Regions from separate parts of the Homo sapiens genome. Here region 2 is linked to region 1. Evidence: promoter capture Hi-C in human tissues and cell types (Jung and others, 2019). All regions are on one chromosome and are shown on one strand. The core of a region is centred on a gene start or on the middle of the fragment in contact, and the rest is flanking DNA. Distances in the headings are between cores, read along the strand shown. Region 1 holds the start of GREB1L (GREB1 like retinoic acid receptor coactivator). Region 2 overlaps GREB1L (GREB1 like retinoic acid receptor coactivator).

Region 1 (4,946 bases), core at 2,259-4,758:
CTCTGGAGGGCTTACTTCCTAGTTGCACTTCAGATATGGTCATGGAGAATAATGAACAAGGAAGAATATTCCAGAGTGTGGAGCCAAGGGCCACAGAAATAAATGCAAAGTGGTGTTCATCCTTGAGAGCAGAACCAGGATGTAATCATAGAACTTCCTCCACTGCCAAGGTGAAGGATCGTCACAGTAACTACCCAGAAGGATTCTGCCATTTATGTATGAACTCTGTTGTGAGTCTCATATTTTTCACTAAATTTAGGGTTTTAAGGCAGCGTATCTATGTAGAAACACTTGGGAATCACTGTTATGGGAGAGAGTGGAGGGATGCACAGGCAATGATCACAGTCAACATTTAATAGTGTTCCGGGCTGGGCATGGTGGCTCATACCTGTAATCCCAGCACTTTGGGAGGCTGAGGCGAGCAGATCACCAGAGGTCAGGAGTTTGAAACCAGCCTGCCAACATGGCGAAACCCCGTCTCTACTAAAAATACAAAAAATTAGCCAGGCGTGGTGGCGGGCACCTGTAATCCCAGCTACTCAGGAGGCTGAGGCAGGAGAATCGCTTGAACCTGGGAGGCAGAGGTTGCAGTGAACCGAGTTCATGCCACTACACTCCAGCCTGGGCAACAAGAGCAAAACTCTGTCTCAAAAAAAAAAAAAAAAAAAAAAAAAAAAAAAAAAGTGTTTCAGGCACTAATGCATCTTCTTTTTTTTTTTTTCTTTTTGAGACATAGTCTCACTCTGTCACCAGGCTGGAGTCAGGATTCAAAACTATGGGACCTTTTTTCAGAATGTTCACTCTGAACCCTATCATCTTTTATAATTATGGAGGTCTACTGGGCATGCTGAGGGACATAGAAATCCCAAAGGGAAGACAAGGCAGAAACACAAATTCAGGACACAGGAGTGTGAAATCTTTTTTTTTTTTTTTGAGTCGGAATTTTGTTCTTGTTGCCCAGGCTGGGGGTGCAATGGCGCAATTTGGCTCACTCCAACCTCCGCCTCCAGGATTCAAGCGATTCTCCTGCCTCAGCCTCCCAAGTAGCTGAGAATACAGGTGTGTGCCACCAACACCTAGCTAATTTTGCATTTTTAGTAGAGATGGGGTTTCACCATGTTGGTCAGGCTGGTCTCGAACTCCTGACCTCAAGTGTTCCACCTGCCTTGGCCTCCAAAGGGCTGGGATTACAGGCGTGAGACACTGTACCCGGCTGGGAGTTTGTTATCTAATGAAGATGGCATTGAACTCTTTTCAATCTACCAGGATATATAGATTACTCTCACTTTTACCCTTGTTAGGGACTTGCCTTGTTTACTGACAAATCACCACTACTACTGATATATTGTGCCGTCTAACTCACATTAGGTGCTCAATATCTGTTGAATGGATGAAGAATGAATACCAGAGTCCTGTAATATTAGACTATGGTCCTTGAGTGACTGCCAGATTTGCTTTCACATTTCTAGGGTCTAGTGTACCTGGCACTCAACAAATGGTCCTTGCACTAAGAGAGAAAACTGCACTGGTGGTTTTACTTTAAAGCGGCTCCTTGTTCAGTGTCCTTATCTTTAAATTGGAAGGTGTTTTGCTTCTGCCCAACCCCCACACACTCTACAGACCTTGTGATGGGTTGAGTTTTTCAAAAGATTCTCACCTGCTTTAACTTCTATGAGCTTAGTTTATATTCACCAGGTGAACTTAAAATTTCAGTTTCTACAGCACTGTCTTTTCCACGTGTATGGCCAGTTCTCATGATGAGTTTACTAAGTGACTTTGGATTCTTTTAGCTATTGCTAATCATCTGCACCTTTCTGTTGTAGTTATTTTAAAGCCCGCCCGCGCGCGCGCGCGCACACACACACACACACACACACACACACACACTCTTGAGTCAGGGTCTCTGTCACCCAGGCTAAAAGCGCTGGGACTACAGACATGAGCCACCGCGTGGGGCCAAAAACATACGGATTTTATTTACTAAACCTGTATTGTGTGCATGACCCAGAATTGTGGGAGTACAGCAATGACTGAGAAAGCCGTGTTTCCCACCTTCGTGGCACATAACAATGTTTCTATGGGTTTTTAAAGGCCCAACAACAGGGATTCAATTATAAAATAAAAATATTTCGGTACAAAACATGATTTAAAAAAAGACAACTATGTCTTCCGAGTGGAGGAGGGAAAGGACAATCAAACCTCGAACAAATCGTTTATCTTGCTAGTCACAGCTTAGCTATGCCTTGTTATTTTCCGGTGATTCCAAACTTCCAGTCCATTCCCTCTGCATGGATCAAAAGTGACAGGAAAGAAAAAAATGTATTTCGGATATGGCAAAAAAGAAAAATGCAAGACAAGCAAACAAAAGTACTGGGACATCGTATGAGAACTAGTTTAATTGACAATGTCTTTAAATGGTACCTATCACTTGACAATGATTCCAACCCACCCGGGCCTGGGCGCCGCGGCTGCCTCCCCACTCCCACGCACACGGGGAGCTCCCCCGGGCTGTACTGCACTAAAGGCACTCAAAATACATCAGCCTTTCCTTACCTCGATTCTTCCACCACATCCAGCATGGAGCTGCTGCTTCCAGAGATGTAGTCGCCTATCTGTGGCAACAATTAGTTTTAAAAATGGAGCCGCATCTCTAATAACAAAAGCCTCCAGCTGTGAAAAGTGGAGCTAAATCTCTCTACCGGGCCGCAGCATCTCTCAAGAACCTTTTCCCCGCAGCACCCGTCAAGGCCCAGGGCCAGCTGGACGCGGCTGCCCTGGGGTGGAGCCGTCCCCGTGGTCCCGGGAGGCTACCGACGAGCCGGGGCCCGGGGCCGGAGGGCGTGCTCCTCCGGGAGGTGCAAAAGTCGGCTTGGGCCCGGAGCTCCCGGGTTTGTTTGGTTTTGTCCGCGCCCTGCCCCCACCCTACCCCCTTCATGCAAAAGGCCAAGGGTTTCCGAGCCACCACTGCCCAGGCCGAGTTCACGCTTGGGGCTCTTCAGCCGCCGTCCAGTGAACAGAGAAAGCAATTGCGCAGAGGCGAGAGCAGGCTGAATGAACGCGGGCTCCAGGGGAAATAATTTTTCCTCCTGGCTTCGCGCGTCAGCACACTGGGGTGCAGCCCTCCCTCACAGAAGACCCCCCCCCCGCACGACCCCCTGTACACCCCCGCGGGGCTGCGCGTTCGTCTGTGCGGCGGGGTTTGGGAATGGAGGCGTGAGGACCGCGCATCGAGGGCTCCACAGGCTGGGCGGGGGGCGTCGTTGGAGGGGGGTAGGGGAGAAATGCGCGCCCACCACCCTCACAGAGGGCGAGGGACCCCCAAAAGCCACTCGCGGACGCCGAGGCAGCGGGAAGGCGCGAGGCGGGGCGGGGGGAGGGGGCGCGGGGGTCCCCGCTGCGGAGGCCAGGGCGGGCGGGAGGGGCAGCACCTGAGGAATCCGCCTCCGGCTGCGGCGGCCGCCGCCTCGCTCCGCCCCGGGGAACTGAGCGCGCGGACCGCGCGCCTGCCAGAGAGACGCCAGCCGCCGGCGGCGCTAGCACCTCGGAGTCGGGCGGCCGGAGCAGCGGAGCGCAGCGCGGCGCAGGGAACGGCACTGGGGGTGGGGAGACCAGCCCGGCCGAGCCGAGGGCCACCCCCTGGTCCTCTGCCCTCGCGCCCCGCTAGGGCCAGGTGAGCGGCCGCGGGGACTCCGGGGCGCGGGCAGGAGGTGAGAGGTCGCGAACCGGGCGCGGGAGCTCGCCTGTGACCGGCAGGAGCTGCCCTTTGGCGGGCTGGACGCCCTGGCCGCGCGGGGAAGCGCCGCAGCGGACTTTTCCGGAGGGATGGGAAGCTCAGCGGGGGTGTGAGCGGAGCGCGTGCGGGTGGCGAGGGAGCGCCAGTGCCAACCTGGGAGCCGTGCCTGCCTTCCCTGCCGCCTCGCGTCGCCCACCGAAGGGACCCGGCCGTGCTGTCCGCGCCCAGAGGCCGAAGGCCTGTCACCGGGCTCTACTCGCTGCCTTTGTGGCGGGAGCGAGACGGCCCGGGGGTGGGACGAGGGAGCTGCGGCGCGCCGAGTAGCGCGGGGTCCCCCGGCGGAGGCGGCGAGGGGGCACCTGGTTCGTCTCCCCGAGCCCAGGGGCAGTGAGGGGGTGCCGGGCAGGCGGGCGGGCGACAGGTAGGGCGCCGCGGAGGTGGCGGGGAGAGGATGGATGGAGTTCAGCCTGGGAAAGTTGAGAACGTCCAGAGGTGGCTGGGCGCTCGCTCGGCGTCTGTGGGTTTTTTTCCTCAACACCAAATGTCACTTCGTCACGAGCGGGCGCGCGTGTCTTCCGGCCAGCATGTCCATTTTTCTGTGCATGGCTGAGGACCACTCTTATTCCGAATGAGACACAAAGAGTTGTGTTGACAGCTGACCCTGACACAAGCAGACAGCGAGTGAGGTGCGCCCTGGCCGGGGAGGGTGAGGGAGACTCGTTAAAGGAAATCCATTCCCGCCGTCCCTCTTCCCAGCTCCATTAAGAGGAAACTCCATGTGGAGATTCAGTGCGTGGGGTTTCTCAGTTACATGAGTCCAAGGAACGTCCCCGAACGCGACTCGTTTGCCCGGAACTGCCGCTGCCTCTAACCGAGGCTGCGGGTCCTGGAGAAACTCCTCAGTCTTGCCCCTTTCTCCGGTGAACGTGACGGTTCCAAGGTCCTTATCCTCCCCACCCACTCCTCTGGCCCCGGCTGAGAGGATAGAAACCACATTTTAATTTCTGCTTTTCACACCGTAAGGTGTTTTTTTCCGCCTCCCCCCGCCTCGAGGCGGGAATCCCTGCTTAAATCACATTTTTAAACCTAGCCGTTTAAATACAGGGAAGAGCTTTCCCACAAAAGGTTTTTGAACTCAGTCCCCCTTAATAAAACCTCTCATTCATCTATATATGTTCTTAGACTTTAAATCCTGGAACTCTGCTTTGAGTGT
Region 2 (5,455 bases), core at 2,388-4,887, 230 kb after region 1:
GGAGGTTCCAGTGAGCCAAGATCACACCACTGCACTCCTGTCTGGGTGACAGAGTGAGACTTTGTCTCAAAAAAAAAAAAAAAAAAAGAAAGAAAAGAAAATGTGTTAAAGGTGATTCCAAAGCCCAGGGACCCTAATCTTTGCCATCTTCTTACTGGTAACTTTTTCCTACCCTTTTCTTGCTTCCTCGACTTCTCTCATCGATTTCATGTTGGTTTTATGTTAACTACATATATTAGTCCATTTTCATGGTGCTAATAAGGACATACCCGAGACTGGGAAAATTTACAAAAGAGGTTTCATTGGACTCACAGCTCCTCGTAGCTGGGGAAGCCTCACAATCATGGCATAAGGCAGGGAGGAGCAAGTCACATCTTACATGGATGGCGGCAGGCAAAGAGAGAATGAGGAAGATGTAAAAGCAGAAACCTCTGATAATATCATCAGATCTCGTGAGACTTACTGTCACAAGAACAACACGGGAAAGACCCGCCTCCATAATTCAGTCATCTCCCACTGGGTCCCTCCCACAACACGTGGGAATTATGGGAGCTACAAGATGAGATTTGGGTGGGGATACAGAGCCAAACCATATCTTTCTGCCCCTGGCCCCTCCCAAATCTCATATCTTCACATTTCAAAACCAATTATGCCTTCCCAACAGTCTCCCAAAGTCTCAACTCTTTTCAGCATTAACCCAAAAATCCAAGTCCAAAGTCTCATCTGAGACAAGGCAAGTCCCTTCTGCCTAGGAGCCTGTAAAATCAAAAGCAAGTTAGTTACTTCCTAGATAGAATGGGGGTACAGGCATTGGATAAATACAGCCATTACAAATGGGAGAAATTGGCTAAAACAAAGAGGCTACTGGCACCAGTAGGAACTCAGTGTGGTGGGTCTGACCCCACATTTCCCTTCCACACTGCCCTAGCAGAGGTTCTCCATGAGGGCCCCACCCCTGCAGCAAACTTTTGCCTGGGCATACAGGCATTTCCATACATCTGAAATCTAGGCAGAGGCTCCCAAACCTCAGTTGTTGACTTCTGTGTACCCACAGGCTCAACACCATGTGGAAGCTGCTTCCACCCTCTGAAGCAACAGCCCAAGCTGTACATTGGCCCCTTTAGTCATGGCTGGAGCAGCTAGGATGTGGGGCTCCAAGTCCCTAGGCTGCACACAGCACAGGGCCCACCCCAAAAAGCCACTTTTCCCTCCTGGCCCACAAAAATACTTTTTCCTCCTAGGCCTCTAGGTCTGTGGATGGGAGGGGCTGCCATGAAGACCTCTGACATGCCCTGGAGACATTTTCCCCCATTGTCTTGGGGATTAAGATTCCGCTCCTTGTTACTTATGCAAATTTCTCCAGCCAGAAACTCCCCCTTATGATACTATCAGATCTCATGAGACTTTCTTTATCACAAGACCAGCATGGGAAAGACCCATCCCCATAATTCAATCATCTCCCACCGGGTCCCTCCCACAACACATGGGAATTATGGGAGCTACAAGATAAGATTTGGGTGGGGAAACAGAGCCAAACCATATCACTGCACTCTGGATGAATTTAGAGATTCCTGAAAAAATTTTGTTTTAAGAGCTTTGTGGAACTCAGCTTCATTAGAGAAAGGACAGCAATAAGGAGGTTAAGATGAATGAGCTCCTGGAAGGGAGATGTGCTTCCCTCTCTGCCTCCACCCCACTTTTCCATTTGGCCTTGCTTCTTTTCCTTCCTCTCTCACTATTTCTCCTCTTCCTTGCCCTTCTCCCCTCTTGCCTTTAAAAGCAGTAGAGATGCCACTTTGATGACCTGAAAGCTTCCCCAGTTTCCCAGTTTAAACAAGAGAGTATCATATTTACTGGATGAACTTATTATTATTTTTGAGATAGAGTCTCACTCTGTCACCCAGGCTGGAGTGCAGTGATGCGATCTCGGCTCACTGCAACCCCCGCCTTCCGGGTTCAAGCAATTCTGTGCCTCAGCCTCCTGAGTAGCTGGGATTACAGACGCCCGCCACACGTCTGGCTAATTTTTGTATTTTTAGTAGAGATGGGGTTTCAACATCTTGGCCAGGCCAGCCTTGAACTCCTGACCTCGTGATCCACCCACCTTGGACTCCCAAAGTGCTGGGATTACAGGCGTGAGCCACCATGCCTGGCCTGGATGAACTTATTAATGAAAGAAAAGTTGGCAGGGTGCGGTGGCTCACACCTATAATCCCAGCACTTTGAGAAGCCAAGGTGGGTGGATTACTTGGGGACAAGAGTTCAAGACCAGCCTGGCCAACATGGTGAAACCCCATCTCTACCAAAAATACAAAAAAATTAGCTGGGCGTGGTGGCACATGCCTGTAATCCCAGCTACTAGGGAGGCTGAAGCAGGAGAATCACTTGAACCCAGGAGGCAGAGGTTGCAGTGAGCGGAGATTATGCCACTGCACTCCAGCCTGGGTGACACAGAGAGAGACTCCGTCTCAAAAAAAAAAAAAAAAAAAAAAAAAAAGAGTCAAATATGGATCCATATTTGCTCCCAGATCAAATTCTAGTAATTATCTGGTAGGGGGCATCTTTGCTCCTATGGATCAAAAAGCAAATCAGCAGGGGTCGGGGGTGGCAAATAGTCATCGTGTATTACATATCATGGTTTGTCCTCACCATGTAGTGGGGAGAGAAATTTCAGACATCATCAAGCATTTGTAGATGTTCTTTTCTCCAGGAGATGCTGAGGTTAGGAATCTGGAAGTTTTTGGTTTGTGGTAGGGAAATGTCAGAATTGCAAAGCTCTTTTTCAGAAGCCAGAAAGTGTTTGATAATACTCCACAATCTGAAACCTAGAGCCATACATAGGTATAAATAAGATCTTGTAGAACTTGTTAGATTTTGAAGAAAGGAAGGGAGGGAGAGAGAGAGAGAGCGGGAAAAGAAATTTTGCCCACATCTGTTTAGGTCTTGGTAGTCTTCTATGAGCAGGAATAGCTCATTGACCCTGTACACCTCATCTTTGAAAGTTTTGGGTGATATTTCTGAGGATACATGTTGGGACTTCTCTGAATTTAATTTTTTGTTGTTGTTGTTTTGGGGTTTTGTTTTTTTTTTAAACAGTCTAGCTGTGTTGCCCAGGCTGGAGCACAGTGGCGTGATTTCTGCTCACCGCCACCTCCTCCTCCTGGTTCAAGCAATTCTCCTGCCTTAGCCTCCCGAGTAGCTAGGATTACAGGCACACACCGCCACACCCAGCTAATTTTTTTTGTATTTTTTTTTTTTAATAGAGACGGGGTTTCACCATGTTGGCCAGGCTGGTCTTGAACTCCTGACCTCAGGTGGTCCATCTGCCTTGGCCTCCCAAAGTGCTGGGATTACAGACGTGAGCCACCATGCCTGGCCCAACTGCAGATTTAGATATCACTGGCCTAAATGACTGAGTTTGCACTTTGAGGTATATTGGGAATAAAGTGAAAAGGAAAAAAAATACATATTCCTGAAATCTGTCTGAAAAGAAGGAATGTAAATTTTTTTTCCTTTCCGTGTCAAATTTTAGTTGTTTCTTCTCTGCTCCCAATTGAAAAGAGATAGAAAAATAAAAACTAAAACAGTATGTCCATGTTAGTGTCTGATTCTATATCTACTTGGTTAAATGAGGTATTAATATGACTTTCAATTTTTCTACAGTGTCATTTCAGGCTCTTTGTCACATAGCGAACCCAGTCATGGGCTAGCTGATAGAGTCATTAATTGCAGAGAAGTTCTGGAAGCTTTCAACCTCCTGGTGCTCCAGGTCAGCTCCTTCCCATACACTCTGCAGACCCAACAGTCCCGCATTAGCTCTAGCAATGAGGTTCACTGGATACAGCTGGATACTGGGGTGAGTCTCTTGCCTGCTGTCTGATACACTGTCATGTTCTCAGTTCCCAAGAGGGTAGGACCTTGTAACAAAATGTGTCATGGCTTAAGACCATATTCATAAGAATTCAAAATCTAACGTAATGCTTTATGTAAGAGTTCAAAAATCTGGCTGGGTGCGGTGGCTCACACCTATAATTCCAGCACTTTGGGAGGCCGAGGCGGGTGGATCACAAGGTCAGGAGATCGAGACCATCCTGGCTAACACGGTGAAACCCCGTCTCTACTAAAAATACAAAAAATTAGCCGGGTGTGCTGGCACACGCCTGTAATCCCAGCTATTCAGGAGGCTGAGGCAGGAGAATCACTTAAACCCGGGAGGCGGAGGTTGCAGTGAGCGGAGATTGTGCCACTGCACTCCAGCCTGGGGGACAGAGCGAGACTCCGTCTCAAAAAAAAAAAAAACAAAAAACTAACATAATTCTGTATCTTCCAAAAGTTCCATATATTTTAACAATTATTATAAGACTAAAGGCTTGTGAATAATATCCTATATAAATTTGATTAGGTGGTTCTTAGGTATCATGCAGATACAAAATTATCTGTCGTATATAATTTTTCAAAAAGAAAATGTTGATGTTATCTGAGGCCATCATCAATATCCTGGATTTCCTTTGTGCCTTCATATGATTAATTTCACCCTGAGACCTGGACATTTTATTGTCCTCTTGGATGGCCTTTTTGTCATGTTTTAGTCTGATGATCTGCATCACTGTTAATTACTCTCTTGCTCCTCCAGCAACTGGGTTTTTGTTTTAAATCAGTTTTCACAGTCTTCTGTATGAAATGGGATGATGGCACTGTTACTTTAGATAACTCCATAGTAGCAGTGAATGTGTTGAGACTACCCATCTCAACATTGGATATATCCAGGGATTTATAGTTTTTACTCCAATCTCTAATATTGAAAAATATTTTCTATGACCTGAAACTGTATGCTAAATATACTATCAAAGAAAAGAAATGTGAGTTTCATAAAAATAATAAAAATTAGCCATTAAGCAATGGATCCCTCATTTAAAAATATTGAACACACTGGATATTTTAAAATAAACATGTTTAAGTAAAAAACACCAAAAATGTCTTACATAAAACTAACATTTATTTTTCAACCCAGTGCATTTTATTCTGTCATGAAGTAGGTAAGTTCTCTGACTTGGCGCTCTTGTCTTCAAGCATTGGTTTGTTCCTTGCAAGCAGGAAGCTCAGGTCCTTGAATCTTGTCTTCAGCAGTCACTGCCTTATGAGAACTAACTCAGTGTGTTCTATCACTAGAGATTACTTTGAGCTTTTGCTTTCTTGGTATCTTCTCCATGCCAGCTCCAGCCATTCATTGGGCAGTTGAGGTAGGGGTGAGATAACAGAGCTGCCAGAGTTCCTTTGCCTCCAAACTACAAGGGGAGCCTGTGGGCTACCCAAGTAGCTGCTGGGTTGCTCTGACAAAGAATGGATTGCCAAGAGAATGAATGGAAAGAATAATTATTTTTCTAATTAATTATTTTTTTGAGGCAGAGTCTCGCTCTGTCACCCAGGCTGGAGTGCAGTGGTGCGAAGTCAGCTC

Evidence for each region. The method cuts DNA at HindIII sites, captures the fragments that hold promoters and counts their contacts. A contact is called where the count stands out against the background at its distance.
Region 2: a fragment that was not itself captured here is called in contact with the fragment with the promoter of GREB1L in region 1 in 1 of the 25 tissues and cell types used here (dorsolateral prefrontal cortex).

What each region holds. Positions count from the first base shown.
Region 1 is chr18:21,238,724-21,243,669 of GRCh38, forward strand. It overlaps GREB1L (GREB1 like retinoic acid receptor coactivator), which reads left to right and starts at 3,509. Exons shown (of 33, transcript NM_001142966.3): 1 at 3,509-3,670. It overlaps GREB1L-DT (GREB1L divergent transcript), which reads right to left and starts at 4,005. Exons shown (of 3, transcript NR_183513.1): 1 at 3,887-4,005; 2 at 2,554-2,612; 3 at 1,952-2,284. The HindIII fragment of the contact is 24,686 bases long and covers 1-4,946 here.
Region 2 is chr18:21,473,501-21,478,955 of GRCh38, forward strand. GREB1L (GREB1 like retinoic acid receptor coactivator) reads left to right here. Exons shown (of 33, transcript NM_001142966.3): 17 at 3,664-3,856. Among named protein-coding and RNA genes, the nearest start is that of GREB1L-AS1, 25 kb to the left of the region's middle. The HindIII fragment of the contact is 6,289 bases long and covers 494-5,455 here.